Regions from separate parts of the Homo sapiens genome. Here region 2 is linked to region 1. Evidence: promoter capture Hi-C in human tissues and cell types (Jung and others, 2019). All regions are on one chromosome and are shown on one strand. The core of a region is centred on a gene start or on the middle of the fragment in contact, and the rest is flanking DNA. Distances in the headings are between cores, read along the strand shown.

Region 1 (7,935 bases), core at 4,011-6,510:
GCATTACTATAAAATACACATATACAGTTTAAGAGTATCCTTGATCTCAAAGTTATGTGGTTATTGTATAGTTCCAGGGGTTTCCATTTCTAATTTACATGCAGAGATATGTGGGTTCTATTCTTGATGTTTCAATAATCTAATGCTGTTGCAGGAAACATTACTCTCATCCAGAGCCAACTGATTTAGGAATATTATAAATTTAATTTTCAACTTCTTTAATAGTTCTAAGTCATTGCTAGGATTATACATTTTTATATTTTAAATGTACTTATGAAATAAGAATGTATGGAAAGCATGTACGACAGTGTCTGCCATCTATGTATTATTATTATTTCTTTTATTTTCTTTTTCATGTGGGGATTTCAATCTTTTATGCATACCTGAAAAGTCATATGCTCTTAAATCTTTATTTGGCTAAAGTAAATATGGTGAACAGTTTTCATCTCTAGTCAAAGGGAGGAACTAATCTTTTTTTACCTTTTATAACTTAAAATCTTAGTGAGGGCATTTTATTTTATTTTATTTTATTTTATGACAGAATCTCACTGCACTCCCAGGCTGGAGTGGAGTGGCATGATCTTGGCTCACTGCAACCTCTGCCTCCCAGGTTCAAGCAATTCTCGGGCCTCATCCTCCCAAGTAGCTGGGATTACAGGCGTGTGTCACCACACCTACCCAATTTTTGGTAGAAAATACAAAAATATTTCTGGTTTCACCATGTTGGCCAGGCTGGTCTTGAACTCCTGACCTCAGGTGATCTGTGCACCCTGGCCTCCCAAAGTGTTGGGATCATAGGCATGAGCCACCAAGCCTGGCCATAGTGAGAGCTAATTTTAAACTGGAAGTAATTAAAACAGCTGTGTTAATTTAAAAAATTGTCTTCAATATTTTATACTCGAGAATGGCAAAATTTAAAATATACTATTTATCTACAGTCTTTCTTCTTGAAATACTTGAATAAATATTCCCTCTAGAAATCAGCACTAAAGCACCATTTCCACAGGGAGTTCTAACATTAAGCTAGAAAATTAACAGCTGGTTTAGTTTCAATTCAATTGACAGGAAAATGTAAAGAGTTGCAGCGTAATTAGAAACAACTGCCTGCCAAGACGCCCCACTGGGGTTCCTTTCAACCCTCCAGAGACCTCCCAGCTCCATCTCCCAGTGGAGCCCTCTGGTTTCTTCTGCCAATTATTAAAGGGCATTGTAAGTTTTAATAACTTCTGTGAACCACTTAAGAATTCCACTGAAATTATTTACTTATCCAAACATTTATTCAGACATTTTAGTGATGTGTTAATGTATTTCCTTCAATGTTTTAGTCCTCAAAGTTTTAAAAATTGAATAATGAAAAAAAGTGACTTCCTTAAGGTAAAATTGAACTTAGCAGTACCCCACTTTCTGAGGGGTGGCTTGGGGCAAGGGTAAGTAATAGAGAAAATTACAGGGGTGCTTCAGCATAGCAGCGATCAGAACAGGCTTTTGTCATGTCTAAAACACAAGTCATGATGTCTGAACAGATGACCAAACACTGACCTCATAAACACAGTGCAGTCAGTTAAAAGGCAATTTCCTCATATAAATCCAAATGACATCCTTCAGGAACCTTACTCATTATCGACAGAAGAAATATGGAATCTTAGCATTTTGGCAAGGGATGAACCTTAGAAGTGGTCTAGTTTATGCTCCTTATTTTACAAACTGGGAAATGGCAGCTCAGAGAGGGTCCTGAGACTTGCCTAAAGTTGCACAGCCCACAGTGCTGACACCAGCACAGAAGTGCCCAACCTCCAACTCCTGGCCCAACTTCCCTTCCCCTCCCACACCACTTCATGGGCGATGCAGCAGGCAGACTGTTCAGCTTATGACACTATGTATTACATGCCTTTTGCATTTTATTATATTCTAACATACTGGAATACATATGTTTAGAAATGTGGGCTGGAGTACATGTTAAGCTTTCACTTTTTTTTTCCAGTCCAGACTGTCTCAAGGGGGGTATTTTTATCTTTTATAAAAATGGTTAAATATTACTGATATGCTAAGGACAGCCCAATTACTTCATCACAAATTTGAATTATCTTTTTTTTTTTTTCTGTCACACTTATGGCTTACTGCAGCCTCAATCTCTTGGGCTCAAATGATCCTCCTGCCTCAGCCTCCTGAGTAGCTGGGACTATAGGTTTGTACCACCACACTGGGCTAATTTTATAAAAAATATTTTGAAGTGACTGTATCTCACTATATTGCCTGGGCTGGTCTCAAACTCCTGGGCTCAAGAGATCCTCCTGCCTCAGCCTCCCAAAAAGTGCTGGGATTACATGCATGAGCCACCACACCCAGTCAGAATTATCTTTTTAAAGTAAATTCAGATATTTTTACTCTTGCTTAGTGAACAAAATCCCACAACCTGATAATTATGGTATTTTATTATTCCACTGATATTACTGATAAAAATTACATCTGTCAAAATATTTTCTATTTTTTTGCAGAAATAATTTCTATAGTATTAGTATGATTTCACTTTTCTTACTCAAATCTACTTCTATTGCTGTGTAACCAGAAATTGCTTCTATGTTCTAGAATAAAAGATTTATTTTAAAATCAACAGGAAATGGAGTTTCAGGAATAAATAAGCAATAATCCATGGAGATAATCAGGAGGTCTAAATGTAAAAAGCTAATTAATTTTTATATCTAGTATCATTAGTTTGTTAACAGTAAATTTAAAGCAAACCAATTCTTCAAATTAAATAAGACACATAAGAGTGTGGAAACTATTCACATCAACCATTACTTTTGGAGATGTACAGGAGTTTTAAAAAAGCAAGCAGTAGGCTGGGCGCGGTGGCTCACGCCTGTAATTCCAGCACTTTGGGAGGCTGAGGTGGGTGGATCACCTGAGGTCAGGAGTTTGAGACCAGCCTGTCCAACATGGTGAAACTGTGTCTCTACTAAAAATACAAAAATTAGCCAGGCGTGGTGGCGCATGCCTGTAATCCCAGCTACAAGGGAGGCTGAGGCAGGAGAATCGCTTTAACTGGGAGGCAGAAGTCGCAATGAGCCAAGACTGTGCCACTGTGCCATTGCACTCCAGCCTGGACAAGAGCAAAACTCTCAAAAAAAAAAAAAAAAAAAAAAAAGAAAAAGAAAAAGAAAAAAAGCAAGCAGTAGAGTACTAACCTAGTTATCATGAGGAATTTTCCACCACTGTAGGAATGAAAATTAAGATGAAACTTTATTATTTTTATTGCCTTTAAGCATTATACAGAAATTGCAGAAACATACTGTTTTTTAGAGACATATATGCTGTTGTCACATATATTGGATTTTTTCCCTCCTCAATTCAGTAAACATTTATTATTATTATAAAACATTATTACCTATTGTGTGTGGCACTGTGCCACACACTGAGGACAGCAAAACAATTAAGATCCAGTCCTCACTCTCAGGAGATTCATTTGCAATCTATGAGAGAGGCAGAGTGGCAAAAAACAGATCAAAATGTAAGTACTACATAGTACTGGGAATAGCTACCATCCAGCGGAGGGAGGAAGAAGGCATGGTGGTAGACGCCTGTAGTCCCAGCTACTCGGGAGGTTGCAGTGAGCCGAGATCGCACCACTGCACTCCAGCCTGGGTGACAGAGCGAGACTCCATCTCAAAAAAAAAAAAAAAAAAAAAAAAAAAAAAGGCTGCGATAAACGTAATTTTTCGTTTCAAATGTAGTGTGTACACGTTATTTTAGCTAAGAGAAATGAATATAATAAGTTAAAATGTGAGTAACATTCAAGAAAACTGGGTCAAAAATATTTTCCTTATTGGCAAAAAATTTTGTTACCCGCCATTCTTTTAAGACAGCTTTCAGCCAGTTAACGGTTCCTGGTTAAGAAACAGTACTGTCTGATTTGTTAGAGTAGTACCGTTTCGTGAATTACTTTCCACTACAGCAACACATGCATTGCCCTTATGAGATGCTTATCTCGATATGAACCAAACTGCTGAGCAGGTGGAATCTGTGCCAAACTAGCTGATGTTTACTTTGAACACACTGATATTCGGAAAATAAATCCCTCTTTTTTCCTCTTTAATCTTTTAATGTTTGTCTTGCACATGGATGGACCGCCAGTGAAGTGATGCGCACATCATAAATCACCATGGTTTTTAATTCCTGGGTGATGAGACCCATAATTCGCTTGTCAGCTGTTTGTATAGAATCATTTTTAAATGGCATGTTTTGGAGACATCTTGATAAAATAAAAACTGGAGTTCTAAAGTTGCAGTCACATATTCACGAACCGAGAACTCTACATGGTAGGATGAATTTTGCTCACTAGTGTGGAGTCGGCAACAAAGCAAATGCAGCCGCGTCACTGCCGTTTGTTTTCTCAAGTCTCCTACGGGAAGGGGCTCGGACAGTGCTTTTCCACTCCTCTGCAAATTCCTTATAGTTGAACACATCATAACAAACATACAGGTCGAGAAATCTGGTCGTGGCATTAATAGCTACAGTGTTTCTTAAAAATAAAAAGTTTTAAAAAGTTTCTGAAAAAAATGTAGGCGAGCCAACCTTGTTTCTAAACAATCCCAACAGGACTTTTAGGAGCACGGCGATGCTGAATGCCCGTGGACGGCTGGGTGCGCGCCGTTAGCTGGCGCGGTGACATCTGCTTAGAGTTTTCAAGCATTTCAGCATCGCTAGGAGCCCTACAGCCTGACGGTCCGGGACAGCCCGGCTTCCTCCACCCGAGGGGGAAAACAACCCCAGGAAAACAACTTAAACTCGGCCTTGGACTGTCCATCAAGGGAAGCCAAACGAGGCGCTGCTCTCCAGACCTCCAGGAGCAAAGGAGGAAGATCAATTATTCCAAAAGTTTCTCACAAATTTCCCGAGCTCCCCACAACTTTTTGAAGAATCCTGAAAGAATCCTAGGGGGCTGGGAGCCGCACACGTGCCGGGGCTCGGCTTCCCAGCTCGGCAGTCTCAGCCCGCTGGGCTCGCCCGGCAGCTCCGCTGCGCCGCCGACCCGCCCGTCCCCGCCCCGCGCTGCCCTCGGCCCCTGTGCCTGGCCTCCGGGGCGCCCGGCCCGCCTTACCCCGCTCTGCCGCGGCGGCGACCCGGGTGCGTTCCTCCGGAGCAGGGCTCCCGGCCGCTCTGAAAAGAATTCCTTTCACACGTGCGGTGCTGCTTCACGCGTGCGCCCCGCGCCAGGGCCCGACCTCCCCGCCCTGATCGCCATCCCTGCAGCCCCAGTGTGCGCTGCGCCCGACGCCCCCAAGCTGCAGCTCAGGACGCCGCGCCACGCCCCCGCCGCCTCCGAACAGCCCCGCCCCGCGCGCTTCCCAGCACGCACACCTACCGCCCCCGCATCCCTACCCTGTACGCGCAGCCACAGCACTCGCCCGCGTCCGCATTCCACACCCTACCCCGCGCGCACGTCCATGCCTAGCGCCTGCATCCCCATCCCGCACCTGCGCGGGCCCTGGGGATGTGGACGCGGGGGCTCTTCCCTGCCGCCTACGCACTCCGGGGCATGCCCGCGCGGGACGTGAGAGGAGAGCCGAGGGCTGTTGGGGCGGGCCCGACCCGCTTGCGGGGCGCCCACCGCACGCAGATGCGCCAGCCCGCGCCCCGCTCGCGCCTGTCCTGGGCTTCGCAGGCCCGGCGAGGTAGCTGCTCTCCGGGCGCTCCCACGGTCGGAGGCGCGTGGGCGTCGGGCACCTAGGTCTCGCCCGCCTGCAGCCGCCTGGGGACGCGGGTTCCGGACGGCTGGCGCGGGGCGGGGCGGGGACCACCGAGCAGGAAGTCCCCGCGGAAGCGCCGCCGGGCACAGCGTGGGTGCTGTCGAGGAGTGGCGCCCGGGCGGGGCGGGAGGTTATAAATAGCGGCCGCCATCCTGCTTCTCTTCAGACACACTTAATTTAGCCGGCAGGCACACGGATGCTTATTTTTAAAAAAAGAACTTGTTTTATTGCGCTCGAGGTGACCGGGAAGGTGTCCCCGCGGGTCACTCGCTCCATCTGGTCCTGGAGACGAGATGCCAGGGCGAGGCCTAACCTGCCTGCTGGCGCCCAACGAAGATTTTAACGTTTTCTGTTCCCTTCGGGGTGGTTTTACCACGCTTGAGAGGGACGCCTACCGCGGAAGGCCGCGGACCGAGGGCGGCATCGCGTCCTTGTCTGCTGTCTGGGCACAGCCTAGAGAGGCCGCGGGTCCCCTCCCCGTCCCCCAAGGTCTGGAGTGGGGTTTGACCAGCCTGGGATATTAACAAATATCGGTGGACTGCATTTCGGTGATCATTCCACAAGCTGAAATGGCTTCAAAATCACCTTTATGAGTAATAAGTTTATTCCAGGAATGTGGCAAAATGCAAGTCTGATAGTTTTCGTGTCTTCATGGAGCAGCTTCCGTCGGCTGCCTTCGTTAGCGTTTAGATCTACTCGGATTAGCAGTTGGCTTGCCCTGAAAAATGCGTTTGTTCTGCTGAGATCTGAATTTAAAGTTATCCCAAGGAGGAAAAACTAAGCTCCTAAAGGCGCATCTAAAATATCTTCTCCCTTTGGGAACTTTGCGGTGTATGTATGGAGTAGGTAGTAGTTACGGAGACTTAGTTTTTAATTTTTAATTGAAAAATGCTACCTTTGAAGGTCTTAAAATACTTGAATATTTTTCTCATTTAAAACATTTTCTCTGAGAAGCACAGGAATAGTTTTTTTTTTTTTGTTGATCACAAAAGCACTAGGAATTGTTAATATTTGTAGTCTGTTTGCCAAATGCTATTATTGGTATTCTGAGGATAAAAATGGAAATATAATATTGTAATAATTTTAAAATTTTTATTAAAATATAGATTTTAAATTATATTATGTAATTCGAACAAATATTTTACATATATGTTCATACAAGCATTATTTACTATAGCCAAAAGGTGTCCATCAATGGATGAATGGATAAACAAAATGTATTGCATACCTACAGTGGAATATTATTCAGCCTTAAAAAGGGAGAGCCCCATCACATGCTACAACGTGGACGAACCTTGAGTACATTATGCTAAATGAAATAAGCCAGTCACAAAAGTCACAAATACTGTATGATTCCATTTACATGAGGTACCTACAGCAGTCAAAATCATAGAGACGGAAAGTAGAAGTGTGGTTACCAGCAGCTGGGGCAGTGGGAAACGGGAAGATAGAGTTTCATAGGTACGGAGTTTTAGTTTGGGAAGATAGAAATAGTTTTGGAAGCAGATGATGGTAATGGTTGCATAACAATGTGAATGTACTTAATGCCACAGAACTGTACACATTAAGAAAGGTTAAATGGTAAATTAAAGGTTATGTATATTTTACTACCATAAAACAATTTTTAAAGTGGTATTGTGTAAAGACCAGCACAACTAAGAAGCTAGCAGTTTCTTTACACTTGTCATACTGTACAATTTCTAGGTAGACAACTAAGATGTTCATCTTATGGTTTAATGTTTAGTTGTAAAGGTTGTTTGCTTCTCATTTGGTTCCAAGAAAGAGTATTTAGGCCAATTTCAGGGAGAAATATGTGTATAGATATATTCATATGTCAAACTGATTAGTGCTGAATGTCACATTTCCATATTCTAATAACATTTCTAGCAAAGAAGAGGACACAGTGAAGAGAGAATTGCCCGCATTGTCATTGTCTCTTTCTGAGCCTAGAACGCCTAACACTTGGGTGTGGAGAGACTCAGCCTCAATTCACTTTCTAGCAGCCACTGAGATGTGCTTGCCTGGGGTGCCCCCTGGCAGGCAGGGCTGGAACTGCTTTCCAGTACCCACACGGACTGTGAACGAATCTTTCTTTGTGCTTTGTGTACAGAATGGAAGTTCAACAAATATTTGTTGAATGTGTATGTCCTTCCAATACGCAGCAGCCCAGAGCAAACGTGGTAATCTT
Region 2 (7,935 bases), core at 2,308-4,807, 260 kb after region 1:
CTCCCATGTTCTCAGTTCTGCCTGATTTCATCTAGAGGAGGGCTGTGGGTCTTCCATCAGTCACTATTCACCAGTAGAACAAGTTAGAAAGGGAAAAACGTTTTGATACTTTCCCTTCCTCACTGCTTCTTTCTGCCCATTTGAATTTCTGAAATGGATTTCTCAAAGCTTGAGTTTTTACCAAGAAGCTAAATATAGAGAAAGAAAAGGACCACAAGGCATTCAGTTGAGAAGCTCCACAACTAGGATATCATGTCCCCAAGGCAAACGTTTGAGTTTCTCCCTGCTGCACTTGGTGCTGAACTAAAGCTTTTCCATTTAGGATGTTTTGAAGCTCAGGTTGCTTAATTTTGCCACTGAGCTTAATTCCACCCAAAGCCTTGTGACATCTGTGGCCTAATATTATCATAACAATGACAAATAATCATTTGTCATTGATAAATAATCGCAGCAGCATGACAGGCAGAAACAAGTGCTTGTGTTGAAACAGGGAACTGACAAGCGATTCCTTATAATAGGTGACGGGCAACACAGCTGTGCGGAGATGGGAACCCTACCTGAGTCCAGCCCTTCTGTGGTTCTGTTAACATTGATCAGTTTAGCAATCAGTACTTACTCCATTTTAAGGTAAAATTCTCAAGTCACACATACAAAGAAAAGATTATTTAAAAATCATACAAAGCAATGAATACTACAATCACTGTTAGTTCAAAACATGGTTTCGCGTCCTGAAAATCATTGGGCAAAGAGATCCCAGACAGTGTTAAGGAACCCCTTTTATTGAAAAACTCCTTGCTTCTGCTTCCTTAGTTAAAACCTGAGATTTTTCCACAGTGGAGTAACACATGCATAGCTGGGGCACATATTTTGCACCTGATTTGGTAGGAGAAAATGCCCAGGCTGAGAGGAGCCACAAGACATCCGTGAAGTAGGAGAAAATGCAAGATAGTTAATAACGTACCCAACTGCTATGAAACAAATGTTAAGTCGAATGAAAGGTTTAGGGATGTATCACTCAGGGTTCTACCAGACAAAGCCAGTAAGATTCACACACATACACACATACATCAAGAGATTTATTTCAAGGAATTGGCTCATGTGACTGTGGGCCTGGCAAGTCAGAAAGCCATGGACAGGCCATCAGGAGGGCAGGCCGGCAACTCCAGGCAGGAACTACCCCACAGTCTGCAGGTGGAATTTCTCCTTCCTCAGGGAGATCTCAGTTCTGCTTGCAAGGCCTTTCAATGGACTGGATTTAGCCCACCCAGACTATGGAGAATAATCTCATTTACTTAAAGTCAACTATGTACCAAATACCTTCCCAGCAACATCTAGACTGAGTTTGACTGAGTGACTGGACGCTCTAGCCTGGCCGAGCTGACCCTCTCAGGGGACAGATACCCTCAGGGATCTTGGATCAAGCACTTCTGTTTGTTTGTGGGGTGGGGATGGGGAGAAGAGGAAGCAAGACACATCTAACAATTAACAATAGCAAAGGGTTAACAGATGCTGTGGTACTTACTCTGGTCCTTCGGACAGTCCCAGAAGAAGAGGAAGGCAGGAGAGAAACTTGTGTGGTGGAGGCACACGATATTTGATGGATAAATCCTCCTCCGTGACTATCTCCTCTACTGATCACCAGCTACACCGAACCATCTTTCCTTCTCTATAATCATCCCATTCCTAGATTTAATTTTCTGATTCATGTATTTTTTGCATGGCCTCATTTTCATTTGCTTTTCTCATTTTTCTTCATACCATTCTTCCTCATCCACTTCTTTTTTACTAATTCCCAGCTTTTGATCTTCTATTTTGTTTTGCTCTACTTTTCCCCCAAACTTGGTCCTGAATTTTCACATTTTTCTTGTGCAAACACTACAATAACTTTACTACTACTATCACCAGCAGGAACACAGACTTGCTACCCAGGAATTTGGATGAGGTTCTATTCAAGTTCTTCCACTCCTCAGCTAGAGTTTGGGCATAAGTCCACTGTCAACTGAGAAACAGGAGAAAAATTAAGAGTCAGGAGTCACAAAAGGTTTTATCTTAGGTGAGTGTCAAATAAAGAAACGCAACAGCGAGAAGTAGAGTACTCTGCCACCTTCAGCCCTACGAGGGCGACATGAAGAAAGCACTGGGCTTGTGTGGATCACCCCAGGGCAGCGGCCAAGAAGAAAGGATTACACCAGCACGTCCATCTCAATCTCTAGTGAAAGAAAGGATGGAACAAAGTTAAATCTCGGTGATTTTCTCATCTCCAGAGATGTTCAAGGACAGACCCAGACAAGAACAGTCACTTGCACAGAAGTAACTCGAGCATGAGCTAGGGTACTAGACTATCCCTCTGAGAAACATCCAGCCCTAGGGTCCTTGCAAATGCTACAGGGAGTAACAGAGTTAGAGATTAAGTTTATTATTATTATTATTATTTTGAAATGGAGTTTTGCTCTTGTTGTCCAGGCTGGAGTGCAATGGCAGGATCTCGGCTCACTGCAACCTCTGCCTCCCAGGTTCAAGCGATTCTCCTGCTTCGGCCTCCAAATAGCTGGGATTACAGGCATGCGTCACCACGCCCAGCTAATTTTGTATTTTTAGTAGAGACACAGTTTCTCCATGTTGGTCAGGCTGGTCTCAAACTCCTGACCTCAAGTGATCCACCCGCCTCAGCCTCCCAAAGTGCTGGGATTACAGGTGTGAGCCACCACATCTGGATAATTTTGTATTTTTAGTAGCGATGGGGTTTCTCCATGTTGGTCAGACTGGTCTCAAACTCCTGACCTCAAGTGATCCACCCAGAGTGCTGAGATTACAGGTGTGAGCCACCACATCCGGCCTAGATTAAGTTTATATTGAGAACTACCACAATGATTCATGAGTCTCTCATGAGAAACTAGTTGGAATTATGAGTTTGTTCCCTCCACTTATACATACTGTACCCACATGTTTTCGTTTTCTATACTCTTCACCACATGTTGCTTCCCCCACATGCAACAGGAAACTGGCTCCACGGCAAGGGTGAAAAAGATCTGACCCAGTGGTTCCCACCCACGCCACCTTCCAGGGAGAAGGTGAGGCCAAGATGAGACTTTAATAAGTCGAAAATAAAAGACTGCTAAGTGCTGCCCCACAATTACTCACAGGCTTGTGGTCAGGTTTGTGAGCTGCTTGGCCTGTTGCCGGCACTTACAAGCTTTCTTGGAAGCAAGACACAGACATTCCTGCGGAATGACTTGAGCAAATTTTGCTAACGCTACAAGGGTTGATTGAACACCACCACATTGAACTGATGCAAGAGGACACTGAATCACACCCATAAAACACCCGTCCTGTCAAGAGTCTTCCAAGAGGACGCGCAGGAGTCAGCGCTCCGGGGAAAGAAGATGAGAAACACCAGGTGGACCACCCTGGCCAGGCTGCTGGGAACAAGCCTACGTGCACAGCTGCCGGAGGAGAGGCGGGTCTCCCCTCTGGGAGGCATCTCAGCTACATCTATCAAGTTATAAAAATGTTACTCTCCCGCAGGCTGAGCCCACTCCCAGAATTATTCCAGAAAAGACTCCAGAAGAAGAAACCATATGTGCATAGAGGCTCACTGAGGCCTGACCTTAAAACATCCCGCAGTAAGGGAAAGATTGGATTTAAAAGAAAAAAAAAAAAGACCAGCTAAATGAAATATCATAAAGCCATTAAGAATGAATAAAAACTTGAGTAGCATGTTCATAATAGAGACTAGACAGGAACAAAGGAAAATGAAAGCAATTGACTTAGGGTAGAGCAAACACAGGTGGAGTTTTTCCCTTTGACTTTTCTTTAAAATAGAGGTTGTGTGTGTGTGTGTGTGTGTGTGTGTGTGTGTGTGTGTGTGTGTGTGTTTTGAGACAGAGTCTCACTCTGTCGCCCAGGCTGGAGTGCAGTGGCGTGATCGCAACTCACTGCGACCTCCGCCTCCTGGGTTCAAGCGATTCTCCTGCCTCAGCCTCCCAAATAGCTGGGACTACAGGCCCGCCACCACGCCTGGCTAATTTTTTGTATTTTTAGTAGAAACAGGATTTCATTGTGTTAGCCAGGATGGTCTCGATCTCCTGACCTCATGATCCGTCCGCCTTGGCCTCCCAAAATCCTGGGATTACAGGCGTGAGCCACTGCGCCCAGCCTAAAATAGAGCTTTTAAATAGAAACAAACAAACAAAAAAAAAAATGGAAAGGAAAGAGAGGAAAGACTTTGCCCTAATAAAAGGGACATTCCAGAGTACTTCAGGCCCCAGTGCTAATTCCCTGGTGCACTTTTTCTTAGAACACTGTGTGTATAATGATGCTTTTAGGGGGAAAAACAACAGTATTATAGAGTTTGAAAGAAAGGGAAAGCCTCGACTTTTACAACAAATACAACAGCAAAAAGAATCCATCATTGTGTATGAATGTGAATACATTCACTTCCATTCTATGAGGGTAGTGATACTTTAATTGAGGGGTCCTCTGGGAATACAGTTTACTACAATAAGTTTTGAACCAAAGAGTGTAAGCCCTGACTCCAAAAACAGCCATGGAGCACAAGCCCCATATCTGCCTACTCCCCACATCTTTACCCAGAGATGCTTCCTGCCTTGATGGCCCATAGGGCTCCAGTGGCCTCTCACCTGGCTTCTACCTGCAGCTGATGGAAGGCACAAAGGCTGGCTCCCACAAGGGAAGAGGGATGCAGTGTCATTTGTCACCTCCCACCTCTCTTCTCTTTGCCTTTTCTCTTGGGGGCTCCTTACCCCCATCCTCTACTTCTGGGGACCCTTACCCCTGGCCTGTTAACTTCCCAACTTCAAACTGAGGGAGCTGAAATCCATCATTTATATTCACTGCTCAAGCACCTATTGGTAATGATTGCTAGAAGGTGTTATAGTAACAGCATTTTCATTTATTTATTTATTTATTTATTTATTTTTAGAGTTAGAATACTAACATAGAAGCTTTGCAGCATTTTGGGGATTTTTAATGAGTATGTGGTTGATGTTATTTATTTGCTTATTAATGGGGATACAGGTATCTCTAAATTCATAAATCAGCAGTATCTCTCTTTTCAATAGGGTTTTGTTGCTCACCAATATGACTACTCAGAAAATGGCCACCCACAAAATAATAAATAATGGTATAAAAATAGTCTACTTCTTATGGAAAATTGCTGCTAGAAAAAAAATCCTAATTAAGGCCAGGCGCGGTGGCTCACACCTGTAATCCTAGCACTTTGGGAGGCCAAGGCAGGCCGATCATTTGAGGTCAGGAGTTCAAGACCAGCTTGGCCAACATGGAGAAACCCCATCTCTACTAAAAATACAAAAAATTAGCCAGGCATGGTGGCATGCGCCTGTAGTCCCACCCACTTGGGAGGCTGAGGCAGGAGAAGCCTTTGAACCTGGGAGATGGAGATTGCCATGAGCCGAGATCACGCCATTGCACTCCAACCTGGGCCACAGAGTGAAATTCCATTTCCAAAAAAAAAAAAAAAAGTCCTAATTAACTAATGATTCCAACACAGCAAATAAAAGTTTGCAGATAGAATTCCAGTTGCTGTGGCAGTTGACATTATCCCTGCGAACATCTGCACTACTCTAGAGAGAAATCATTACAAGGTACAAACGTGCTCCCTTGCACCTCCAGCCAGGCTGGGGTCGCCCAGCAAGTGTAAGCAAACCTGTGGGAAAGCTGAGCTGGACTTGGCTCTGCACACGGGTGGCATGCAGCTTCTGACTCTAACATAGAGGAGGAGAAAGCTTTACAAATATGCTTAGATGCCATTTCTCTGCCAAAGCCACCAGCCTTTCTGGAAAAGTCTTGCACTCCTGCTCTCCTTTTGGAAGAGCCCCACATTCCAACAGTTTGTCATGTGCATCCTAACCCATCTCGAGTGGTATCTACAGTCTTTCCAAACAAAGGGCCACGCTACTCTGTGAAAAATGCCACTGGAAGTTTGATAGGGATTGCACTGAATCTGTAGATCACCTTGGGCAGTATGGACATTTTAACAATATTAATCATTCCAATCCATGAACACAGAATGTCCTTCCATTTATTTGTGTCTTCTTCAGTTTTTTCATCAGTGTAATTATAGTTGTCAGTGTACAGATATTTCACTTTCTTGATTAAATGTATTTCTAAGCATTTTGGGGGCAGCTATTGTAAATGGAATTGTTTTCTTGATTTCTTTTTCACGTAGTTCCTTGTTAGTGTATAGAAATGCTACCGACCTTTGTATGTTGACTTTGTATCCTGCAACTTTACTGAATTTATTTATCAGTTCCAACAGAATTTTAGGGTTTTCTATATATGAGATCATGTTGCCAGCAAACAGTGACAATTTAACTTCATTTCCAATTTGAATACCTTTTATTTCTTTCTCTTGCCTAATTGCTATGGCTAGGACTTCCATACTACGTTGGATAGAAGTGGTGAGAGTAGGCACCCTTGTCTTGTTCCTAATCTTAGAAGAAAAGCCTTCAACTTTTCACCATTGAGTATATTTGCTGTGGGTGTGTCACGTATGACCTTTATCGTGTTGAGGAACACTTCTTCTATATCTAATTTGAAGAGAGTTTTATTATAAAATGATGCTGAATGTTGTCGTGTGCTTTTTCTGCATCTGTTGAGATGATCATATGGTTGTCCTGTATTCTGTTAACATGACATATCACATTTATAGATTTGCCTATGGTAAAGTATCTCTGCACCCTGTGATGAATTCCCCTTGATTATGTTATTAAATATAGGATCATTTTAATGTGCTATTGAATCCAGTTTGCTAGTGTTTTGTTGAGGAAGGCCAGACTCTACTCTCTATTTGACTGGAGGCTCTCTCGGTGGACACTGAGTACTCACTGATTCATGGGTGTGGGGGTGTGGGTTCTTTTTTTTTTTTTTTTTTGAGACAGAGTCTTGCTCTGTCACCCAGGCTGGAGTGCAGTGGTGTGATCTTGGCTCACTGCAACCTCTGTCTCCCAGGTTCAAGTGATTCTCCTGCCTCAGCCTCCCAAGTAGCTGGGACTACAGGTGCACAGCACCACACCTGGCTAATTTCTGTATTTTTAATAGAGACGGGGTTTCACCTTGTTGGCCAGACTGGTCTCGAACTCCTGACCTCGTGATTCCCCTGCCTTGGATTCCGAAAGTGCTGGGATTACAGGTGTGAGCCACCACGCCCGGCCGGGAATGGGCTCTGATATAGTTCTAGGGCTCCTCAAAATAATCTTTCAGTACTTCCCTGTAGATGAAAAATATCACCTCTCTCATTGCTTCTGGCAGAAGATCATTCTTACAGAGCTCTCTGCATTTGAAGCCAACAAAAACACAGGTCTCAATTAACCAGGAGGCTGGTCCTAGCAACGTGGGTGATGTATCCGCTCTAACGACCCTGCAGTCCCAACAGAGGTGCTGCTGAGTGGCTGGACTGAGAAGCAGCATGTGGACTCTGTTGGAAAGGAGCTGAGGAAGAGGACAGGCACAGTGGAGCTAGGATGGTCTTCAGCAAACCTCCCAGGGACTAGGAGCTGGAATAGTCAGAGCCAAGAGAGCTCTCCAGTACCCTCTGGTAAGGCACTTACTCCCACAGACACACTGACCACCCAGACTTCAGAAGGCGCAGAAGACAGAGGCCAGCTGAGCGAAGGGACAATGGCCCAGGCCATGTGAGAGAGGAAAGAAAGGCACAGCATCCTGGGGTGCCCGAGGGATCAGCTCTAAGCGGCACCTGGGGCTTTGGACAGATGCTGTCAGAGGAGACAGAGACTGAACCGGTCACAGAAGAAGCCTGGTAGGAGAAGCAGGGGAAAGATTCCCCCAACCCCCTGCAGAGCCCGCACAGGCCTAGCCCAGGGCAAAGCCGGCAGAGGGAGAACACATCCTTTCTGGGGTGATGTGAGCCTCAGAGCAACAGGAAGAAAAGGCAGC

Evidence for each region. Contacts are between HindIII fragments. The study calls those that stand out against the background at their distance.
Region 2: a contact is called between a fragment that was not itself captured here and the fragment with the promoter of GJA3 in region 1, in 1 of the 25 tissues and cell types used here (IMR-90 fibroblasts).

Annotation. Positions count from the first base shown.
Region 1 is chr13:20,155,792-20,163,726 of GRCh38, forward strand. GJA3 (gap junction protein alpha 3) reads right to left here and starts at 5,261. Exons shown (of 2, transcript NM_021954.4): 1 at 5,099-5,261. RefSeq lists silencers at 4,992-5,081, 5,242-5,321, 5,552-5,911. The HindIII fragment of the contact is 27,118 bases long and covers 1-7,935 here.
Region 2 is chr13:20,416,876-20,424,810 of GRCh38, forward strand. The region is part of intron 5 of CRYL1 (crystallin lambda 1); the gene reads right to left. Among named protein-coding and RNA genes, the nearest start is that of MIR4499, 13 kb to the right of the region's middle. RefSeq lists an enhancer at 2,152-3,351. The HindIII fragment of the contact is 3,613 bases long and covers 1,752-5,364 here.